3 separate regions of the Homo sapiens genome follow, and all the other regions are linked to region 2. The links are contacts of gene promoters, found by promoter capture Hi-C in blood cells and fetal thymus (Javierre and others, 2016). All regions are on one chromosome and are shown on one strand. Each heading gives the region's core, a stretch centred on a gene start or on the middle of the fragment in contact. The rest is flanking DNA. Distances are from core to core; before and after follow the strand shown.

Region 1 (3,125 bases), core at 412-2,911, 320 kb before region 2:
TTGCACACGGGGGCCCTTGCATGACATTCAGAGTGGTTGGTGTCAAGGCGGCTGCTCAAATTACCCAGTCGAGGGCTCAGGTGGAGACCGAGTCAGGGCGAGGGGTGCAGGTGGAGTCCTGGATGTCGACTATGATTCAAATAAGCAAAGCCAGGGCATGAGCTGGGGAAGGGCATGGCTGCTGGGAGGGCTTGCCCGGGGACAAGGGGCCACAGGGAAGGGAGGTAGACCAAGCAGCTGAAGCCTGGGCAAGGGAGAGCAGGGCAGGGCAGGGTTGGGCTGGGAGGACGGCGGCACTGCTGTGAACACCGTGGCTTAGGAGTACGGGAGGCACCTGCAAGGCTGGGGGCCCTTCATCCATGAATTCCTCACTCCCTTGCTCTGAGCGAGGAAACACAGTGCAATCTTGCAACCCTGGGGTTCACAGCCCAGCCCCACCAATTCCTGGCTCTGTGGCCTTGGGCAAAATAGCTGAACTCCCTCGGGTTCACTGGGCAAGTGACTGTGCAATGTAGTGCCTTGGTTTCCCCATTTGCAAAATAGGCATAACAATAACAGGGCTAAATGAGCAAATGCCTTGGAAGCACTTGGAACAGTCCCAGGCACGAAGCATTTGTTCAACTACATTTTTCTTTTTTCTGAGACAGGGTCTCGCTCTGTTGCCCAGGCTGGAGTGCAGTGGTGTGATCACTACAGCCTCGAACTCCCAGGCTCCAGCGATCCTCCCACCTCAGCCTTCCAAGTAGCTGGGACTACAGGCACTTGCCCCCGCGCCCGGCTAATTTTTTCATTTCTATTTTTATTTTTGTAAAGACAGGGTCTCACTTTGTTGTCCAGGCTGACCCTGAACTTCTGGTTCAAGTGATCTTCCCGTCTCTGCCTCCCAAAGTGCTGGGGTTACAGGTGTGAGCCTCACCCAGCCTCAATGAAATTTGAGCTGCTCTTCCATTCATTCGCCTGACCAACCTTTACCCAGCACCCTGTGCAGTGGGCAAATGCAGGCTGGGCACTACTGGGGCACAGGTGTGAAAACAGGCATTCCCTCTGGCAGCCCAGAGATAGGGATGGACGTAAACAGACCAAGCCCTCACGCAGTGTAATCCAGACTCTGGTGGAAGGAGGATTAGGGGCTGCAAGGATGCGTGGGCAGGCCTTCTGCCCAACCTTAGAGGGGTGAGGGGTTTTCCAGAGGAGGCACCTCTAAGCTGAGTGGGGCAGACAGACATCCCCAGGGCTCAGCACAGGGATCGGCAGACATGCAATGGTTTTGTGGATGAACAAGACATGAGTTAGGCTGAAGGTGGGAGGAGAAGTGCGCTGGGCCGAAGCCACAGCACATGTAAGGCGCTGGAGGAGAGAGAGTGCCTCGGCCCAGCCAAGGCCTTGCTGAAGGGCAGTGTGGGAAGTGGACAGGGATGATGCAGAGGCCATGGGAGGCTGGCTACACCCATCCTGGGCTTTGCCACTTCCTAGCCCTGCATCTCCTGGATTAGTCCTGGGAGGCCCAGAGAGAAAGAGGTGGCCAAGGCCAGCTGGGCCCAGGGGCCTGGAGGGCAGTTCTGTGGGTGGATGGAGGCTAACCAGCCGCTGCCTTGACCTCCTGCCCTGCTCAGGGCCCAGCGTTCCAGCCAGAACCCCCAGGGAGCAGGAGGGAGGACTTGGCCCCCAGCACTGGCCCAGGCCAAGGCAATCGCAGCCGCCCACTCGACAGGAAGACAGAACGGAGCCAAGGCTCAGGAGACCCAGCTGGCTCCAGGACCCCTCAGGGGCCACAGGGTCCCCCTAATGTCCAGCACCCTGGGACCCGGCTCCTCGCTGTGGCTGGCCAGACCCCAGCGTCTTCTCGGTGTCTGCACTCAGGCCATCCAGGCCCGGCAGGTCGAAGAACATCCTTCCCTCTTTGGTCAGCTCCTACCATCCTTCAGGTCTCAGCGAGACCCTTCCTGACCCTAGAGATGAGGCTCGTGCGCACCAGTGCATGTTCTGAGCATACATCCTCGTTCTCAGCACTGCTCAGTAAAGGCTGCCTTCTGGTGGGCCCTGAGCCCCTCAGGACAGGGGCCGCACATGGCCCTGTTCACAGCTGCATCCTGTGGCCAGTGAGCCAAGGCTGGGTGACCACCAAGCAAACGGCTAAATGAAAGCAAGAAGAAGTCAACTCCATGCAGGGACATCCGGGACCTGCGGGGGAGGGAGGGCAGAACTCATCTGCTTGGGGGACTCAGGTCTTTTTGTGGTTCCAGGAGATTCTCAGCGATCCAAGTGCAAGCCGGGAGGAGACTCCCCCAGCCCACCGAAAGCCACAGCCCATACTGTTCCTCCCAGGACCGAGGCTTCAAGCATGTGGACCAGCCTAGCCTGGACCCTCTTCATTCCCAAGTACAGCAGTTAGGGGGAGGGTCCCGGGGGCCACCATTTATTGAGTTGTGCGACCCCAAGCAACTGATCTCACCCTCAGTGCCTCAGTTTTGCTGTCTGTAAAAGAACAAAGCATGCCGGTTTGGGATGCCGCCTGGGCGAGTCCTTGGTACACGGTGAGAGCCCCGGAATGGTCTGTACCCCCGTCACTGTCCACTCCCCCAACACCCCACTGACTCCCAGGCCCCAGCCCCGTGGCCTCCCTGGGCCTTGGTGGTGGGCTGGGGCTGCCAGAGCCCACTGCTGCCTTTCATCCCAGACAGGAAGGCTCAGCTCAGAGATGACGGGAGGATCCGGAACAGATGTCCAGGAGCCACGGGGGGCTGGGAATGCGGCGACCTCCATCTCCTTCCCTGCCCCTCACCCCATTCCCTCTAGGAGACCCCGGGCCAGAGCTGGCCGCCCACTCTCCCTTCCCATGAGCCTTCAAGGAGAGGGAGCAGTGGGGGGACAGAGCCAGCAGAGGTGGCCTAAGGACCAGGAGGAGAGGTCATCAGACGGCCTCCACAGGGGACACCGACAATCCCAGGCCTCTCCTTCCCCCGCTATTATGCAAGCCATGGCTTAGCCTGGAGCAAACCTAAGTCATAGGAAACCAAAAAGAGGCCAAATCTGGGGCTGCGCTGGGCCCCCGGCGCCCCTTGTGCGTAAACAGAGACCAGCGTCAGGATGTCTTTGAGGAGGCAGGGCGGCCGGGACGAGCATTT
Region 2 (3,070 bases), core at 1-2,500:
TCTTAAGATTTCCTAGGGGCCAGGCATGGTGGCTCATGCCTGTAATCCCAGCACTTTGGGAGGCCGAGGCGGGCAGATCACACTTGAGGTCAGGGGATCGAGACCAGCCTGGCCAACACAGTGAAACCCTGTCTCTACTAAAAAAAAAAAAAACCAAAAATTAGCTAGGCATGGTGGCGTGCACCTGTAATCCCAGCTACTCAGGAGGCTGAGGCAGGAGAATCACTTGAACCCAGGAGGCAGAGGTTGCAGTGAGCCGAGATCGCACGACTGATCTAAGACAGACTCCGTCTCAAAAAAGAAAAAAAAATTTCCTGGTATCCACTAACCTTAAACTAACAGGTTAAAGGGCAATGCTATGAATGCTGTGCCCCTTGTACATATACAAGTAAAAAAATAATAATAATAAAGGTTGAAACACTAGTGTTATCTATGATGATATAATGGCTGGTTTTACTTCTTTTCTTACATAATTGTCTCATTTAATCCTCATTACCGTATCATACTGTTATTATCACTATCTTACAGATGAGGAAACTGACCGTGGAGAGGCAATGCCGCTAATAAGATGTGATGGTAGCAGGACCGGAACCCCAACTGTCTGACTCAAGAGCCTTCCCTCTTAACCACAATACACTGCACTACACCCCTTAGATTCAAAATGTGTATAAATGGGTGCATGCAGCACAATGTAACTGTTTGCCCTAAGATCGAACAATTACGGATTCTAAACTGAAGAGGAGGCAGCCAAGAACGCCCACCGTCCCCTCAGAGAGCTGAAAACTGGAAAAGAGCCTGCACCTAACCCTCCCCAGCTTTCCAGGTCTCCCACAAGGAAGGATCAAAGATTTGGACTTCAGGCAGAAGACCCAAAAGTCACAGCCACCGGAGGTCAGGAGTGGAGGGTTTCAGGGAGCTGAGACAAATGCAGACGGGGACACACAAGATGCAGGGAGCAAGAAGCACGAGGCTCGGAAGCGAGGTGTGTAGGATGCTCAGACGAAGTGCCCTGGGTCCCGCGGGGAGTTACACACACAGGGATACGAGGCCTGGACCACGTGCAGAGAGCCCTGAAGCCGCTCTCTGAAGCCTCGACTCCCCCAAGTCCCCACGTACCGCATGAATCCTGTGTCCGTAGTGATTGTATCCCCCGGCACCACTAGATGTTTCTTAGTGTCGCGGCCCAGTCTCTCGCTAAGAGGCTTGCGAGCCACTGGAAGCCTCATCTCCATCGCCATCTTGGCGCCAATGAGTTGCGCAGGCGCAGCTCAGTCGGGAGCTGCGATATCCGACTCCACAACTCCAGGCCGCGTTCGGAGGGGCGGGGAAGGGCGGGGACTCAGAGCAGCTGCCAATGAGAACTCACGGCCTAGAGGCCATGTTTACAATTGGCAACAATAAGGCGAACCCGAAGGGAAGGGAGCCGAGCTGCCATGTCTACTATTGGCAAGGAAGCACCCGTGGAATAATAAAATCTCACGTTGTGTGGCGTGTGACTTTTTACCAAAACTGTCTTGTACTCATCATCCCATTTATTGTTTACCAGGGTTAGAGATAATTGAGAAACGGACCTCTGAGTTTCTGTCCAATTCTAAGCTGCTGAAATCCGATATTTTGTAAGAGAGAGCTCAGGAGGATGGAGAGATGGGATCTACAGAAAACACTATTTGAACAGAAAGAAGAGCCCCTTTCCACACGGTTCCCAGTAGCGCCAGGATTCTACATTGCGGCCGCCCCGTGGGTGCTGGCTCAACATCATCATCTATAACCCCAAACCGGGCTCCAGATACTTCTCACTTGGTTCTGTCCTTTCATAAGGACTCCTTTGAACAAGCTAATTTACTCCAATATTTCTTTTGGAAACAAGTTAAAAATCGTCTAAGAAAACAGGTCAAACCTTGCAAGCCAGGTATATTTGGTAGGGAAGGGAAGAGCACACACAATGCGAAGATCTTGGCTTGCATTTAGTTACACAGCGAGTTGAGCGCTCTCTGTGTGCCAGGCGCTGTTCTAAGGACTCAGCGGGGAACAGACGGATGTCTCTGTGGGTTTTTCTGCGGCTCCGTTTTAATAGGAGGGTACCCCTCGCCCCTTCTCCCCGTCCCCCACTACCCTCTCCCTCTCCTTGCCCTGCATTCACAAGAAACTAATTGGGGATGGTAACTCCCCATGCACAGGGACTCTAAAGACGATTAAATGAAATCATTGGCATCAGCTGTGGTCAGTAAAGCCGGTAAACCAAGTCCGCCTCCTGAAGAAAGATCCATCGAGCCAATTGTTTTATAAATCTCCAAAGCGACAGCATTTCTTCCACTTAAGCAAGTCTCACGACCACACTTAAGAAAGCCAGCCCTGCCAGGCAGTCGATGACATGAATGCTAGTGCCCCGAGGCCCTGGGTAAGCGGGCTGCCAGACCCTCGCCCTCTGCCGTGCCTGGAGGAAGGCACTAGAGCCCAGCCCCTCGGTCCAGTCCTGCCGCGGCCATAAGAGGGCGATGGTGTCCTCTGAGCTCGCGTAGCCCGGCAGCCGGGGAGCCAGGCCCAGCGAGCGGCCCTAGGCGGAGCGAGAGTGTAGGCCTGACACCATCCAAGTTCTTCCCGGGAGGGAGAGACGTCGCCTTTACCCCGCGCATTCTCACAGCGTTCACAAGGTTGGCATTGTGGATACCAGTTTATGGAGGAGGAAATCGAGGCCCCAAAAGGAATGGAATTCACATTAGCAGATGGCTGCAAAGCCGATGTGTGTTCCAACTGCACGCGATTTACCCCAGAGCCTGCACCCTTTACCAGAAATAGCCCGAGTGCTTCGGCTGGTCCTTTGCTGAGTGCTTTACAAATACTATGTTATGTATTCCTCACTTTCAGCCCATCTTCGAGATAGGCATTGCTATCCCTGATGATCACTTGGGGCCACCGAGCCCCCCAAACAGACCCGTAACTGGGACTAGAATCCAAAACGACAGGGACTCCCCCTCTCCCATCCCCAGTGCTCCTCTTTCTGCATCATCACACGCACCTTTTTTTATTTTTATTTTTTTCGAGACAGAGTCTTTGTCACCCAGGCTGGAGT
Region 3 (3,314 bases), core at 59-2,558, 270 kb before region 2:
GCATATGCAGAGTCTAAAACATTTACTGTCTGGTTCTTGACAGTTTTCCGACTATCATGGTGGAGCTCTCCAGCCTTGGGGAGGGGAGTGGTGAGGTTTGGGGCATGAGACACCGCACGCCGCAGGGGCACAATCTCCCACGGCCCTTGCCCTAGGCCTGGGTGCTGGCCGAGGGACGCACTGCCAGGCTGCTCACAGCCCAGCCCCTGCCTGGGTCCCCAAGTGCCAGACGTCAGTTCTCCGTGGCTCCCATCCCAGGAGGAGGTGAAAAATGTGACACCTATAAGTGGGACATTAAAGTTTAATGGGGGCTGATGCATATTTAATGGGGCTTAACAAAGCATCCTTAAAGACATCCCAGACAGCCCCCCGGGGCGGGGGCATGCTGCCGCGAAAGCTGCCCTGCCCACTGCAGCCGGTGCTCCCTCATCTGTCTGGTGGCGTCCCTAGGAAAACTTGGCATTCCAAGCTCTTGCCAGAGCCAAGTGTGGGCCTGCGGTCTCCGAGGGAGCTGCCCTTTCATTATTAATATTATGAGAATGTCTGACGGGCCACGTGAGTCACAGGGATGTGACTCAGTCTGCCTGCCCCATTCCAGGAAGCCTCTGTTGGACAGAATGGGAGGCCTGCCCCCTCCTCCCTCAGTCCCTCTGTTCCCCAACCTATGTCAGGAGCCACAGCTGGAGTGGAAGGTCAGATGGGGACATCCTGGGAGTGGGGGTGCACAGAGATGGGATAAGATGGGTCCCTGTCATTGACTCCAAAATAACTGCCTGAGACTCGGAGATCCCGCATTCTTTGAATCAGGGCATCTTGGAAGGGCTGCCGTGGACACACCTGAGTCCAGAGGTCCAGGCCTGCTGGCTGTGAGCTCTGACACAGCAACAGGAACTGCATGGCCGTTGTTTCACTGCTCCCCCACCCCCATTGACATGACCTTGGGACCACAGCCTACTCTCAGCTCACCCCTGATATTTCTGGGGTCTCCAAGTGTTTCTCATAAGGAGCCCGCCAGTCCTTATTGATGTCTTCACAGGCCGTGAAGCAGAGGAAGCTTTTCCTCTCATGCTTCATCTTGGCCTGGTGAAGGATGGCGGTGACCTAGAATTCTCAAGTGGCAGGTCCCCAAGACTCAGCCCCATGCCTTGTCCTGGTCTCAGCACTGACCCATTCATCCTCAGTTACCTGTGATGTATAGACTATGCACAGTGCATCCCTGTAGGCTGTCCCTACAACACAATCTGACCCTACAGCACAACCTGTCCCTACAGCACAACCTGTCCCTACAGCACACCCTGTACCTGTAGCCTCTACTTGCAGCACAGCCTGTCCCTGTAGCCTGTACCTGCTGCACAACTTGTCCCCATAGCTTGTACCTGCAGCACAACCTGTCCCTGCAGCCCAGCCTTTGCCTGTAGCCCAGCCATACTGTATTTCACTTCTGGGTGTCTTACTTCCTCCTCAACTTCCCCCATGGGGTGTTCCAGGGCTCCCCCACAGCTCAATACATCCAATATGGAGCTTCAGATCTACCCCAAACGCCTGGTCCTCACCCAAGCTTCCCTGCTGAGGTGAATAGCATCCCATTGTCAAAAGGCCCGGACCAGACACTCGCCGAGGGGCTCTCCTTGAAGCCTGTCTCTCCTAAACATGTTTCTAGCCCTTAGGCCCTGCTGACTTTGTCATCCTCCTCCCAACCCTGGTCCAAGCCACATCACCTCTCCTGGCCTCTGTGCAGCCCCAGCCAACCCCTCGATCCATTTCCCTTCAGGATCAGAGTGAACTTCCAAGTACCATCTGATCACGTGGGGCTCCCATTTAAAATCTGTCAGTGGGTTCCTGGTTCTCTCTGAAACGAGACCAAATCCCTCCCACTCACCCCTGTCCCAACCCAGATATAAGCCCCACTGACACTCCCAGTGCCCAGGGATGCCGGCCCCCTTCTGCCTCAGGACTCCCTGCACCACCAGCGTCAGCAGGGACGCATGAGATTGGCCACCCCCACTTGGTGCCATTTGTCCAATTGCCCTTGATTGAGGACCTGCATTGGGTCAAGGCCTGGTCCCTGGACCCCAAAGCAGCACTATGGAGCCCCAAGTGTCCCAGGGTCCATCCTCGGAAGAGCCCCTTCCTTCAAGAGACACATCCCCTTACTCTAGTTGCATCCCCCCACCCCCCTTGATGTCTGGGGACCCTGGCTCAGCTGTCCTGGGCCCAGTCAGAATCGCCGGCGAGGCTGGCCAGGAGCCTGGGCCCAGTTGGAATGGGCCAATGTCAATCTGTTGTGTGAGAAGGGAGGCCTCCCCGATGTGCAGAAGTTTGGGATGTTAATCCACAGAGCATCCATCTGGGTCAGGGATTTGAAGATGTGTTCTGCAGTCTCAGGTTCTGCGGGGGCTGAAGGCAGGGGCTGCTGGAGGGGGAATGGGAGGCCAGCAGGGTGCCCTGGGCCCTTCAATAACCACCTCCCAACCCTTGGGACGGGGGTGGTTCTGTATGAAGTCACATTTGAACAGAGTATTCCAACCACAGTCGAATCCAGACACCTCATTTCACAGATGGGGAAAGTGTAGCTGGGCTGGGTGTGGGGGCTAAGGGTGCTCTTCTTGGTCACAGCCGAGCCCCAGGCTTGTGGGGACCTATCAGCAGGGATGGAAGTTAGTATGAGAAGGCGGAGGGGGTTGGTGACATCTGGAGTAGCTAGTCATGTCTCTGGGTTCTTGCTCGAGAAGAAGCAGGTGTCCTGGCAGCTTTGCAATGTCTCTCCAACCCCCTTCAGTTTCCACCCCTACCAGGCACCCCGCACCCATCATCCAAGGCGGCACAAAGAAATCAGCCGTCCTCACGTTTGGGAAACATTTTCTACTTCGTTTGCCATTTGTTATCTCTCTTTTTTGACAAAAACATTCTCCCAAACATCTTGCGGGGGGTTGTGATTTCACGATTCAAGATTCTCTGGTGCTGAACCTTGGTGATTTAATGATTCTAGGGGTAGGAGATTCCCATTCAGTGTCTGGGGGGACAGGCAATAGGACAGGTCTGACGGCACCCATACATGCGGGCGGCAGAGCCCATCCTGGCCTCAGCCACCTGCTCCTCAGCTCGGCATGAGTCCTTCCCAGCAATCATGTGAGCTGAAAGAAAGTTCCAGGGCAAGGTCCCAGTTGCTGGCTTCTGGAGGGAGGAGTTGAAAGACCCTCACCTCCACTGTCCTCATCAGGGGCACGAAGGAAGCTGCTCAGCAGGTGTGAACTGATCCCAGGTTCTGGATGGGGCTGCCTTGATGGAGGGCGGTCACTGTGCATGGACCTGCC

Evidence for each region. Contacts are between HindIII fragments. The CHiCAGO score rates a contact against its expected background, and 5 or more counts as called.
Region 1: a contact is called between a fragment that was not itself captured here and the fragment with the promoter of EXOSC2 in region 2, in 3 of 17 cell types (M0 macrophages, M2 macrophages and endothelial precursors). The highest score is 5.8, in M0 macrophages.
Region 3: a fragment that was not itself captured here is called in contact with the fragment with the promoter of EXOSC2 in region 2 in 1 of 17 cell types (endothelial precursors); the score reaches 5.4 in endothelial precursors.

Annotation. Positions count from the first base shown.
Region 1 is chr9:131,012,491-131,015,615 of GRCh38, reverse strand. All of the region lies in intron 1 of LAMC3 (laminin subunit gamma 3), which reads right to left. Among named protein-coding and RNA genes, the nearest start is that of LAMC3, 4.9 kb to the right of the region's middle. RefSeq lists enhancers at 1,679-2,246, 2,247-2,814, 2,815-3,125. The HindIII fragment of the contact is 5,876 bases long and covers 1-3,125 here.
Region 2 is chr9:130,691,960-130,695,029 of GRCh38, reverse strand. EXOSC2 (exosome component 2) reads right to left here and starts at 1,250. Exons shown (of 9, transcript NM_014285.7): 1 at 1,117-1,250. The coding sequence starts at 1,238. RefSeq lists an enhancer at 998-1,187. The HindIII fragment of the contact is 5,769 bases long and covers 1-3,070 here.
Region 3 is chr9:130,959,992-130,963,305 of GRCh38, reverse strand. No RefSeq gene overlaps it. Among named protein-coding and RNA genes, the nearest start is that of FIBCD1-AS1, 21 kb to the right of the region's middle. RefSeq lists enhancers at 1-242, 243-830 and a silencer at 2,543-2,717. The HindIII fragment of the contact is 504 bases long and covers 1,057-1,560 here.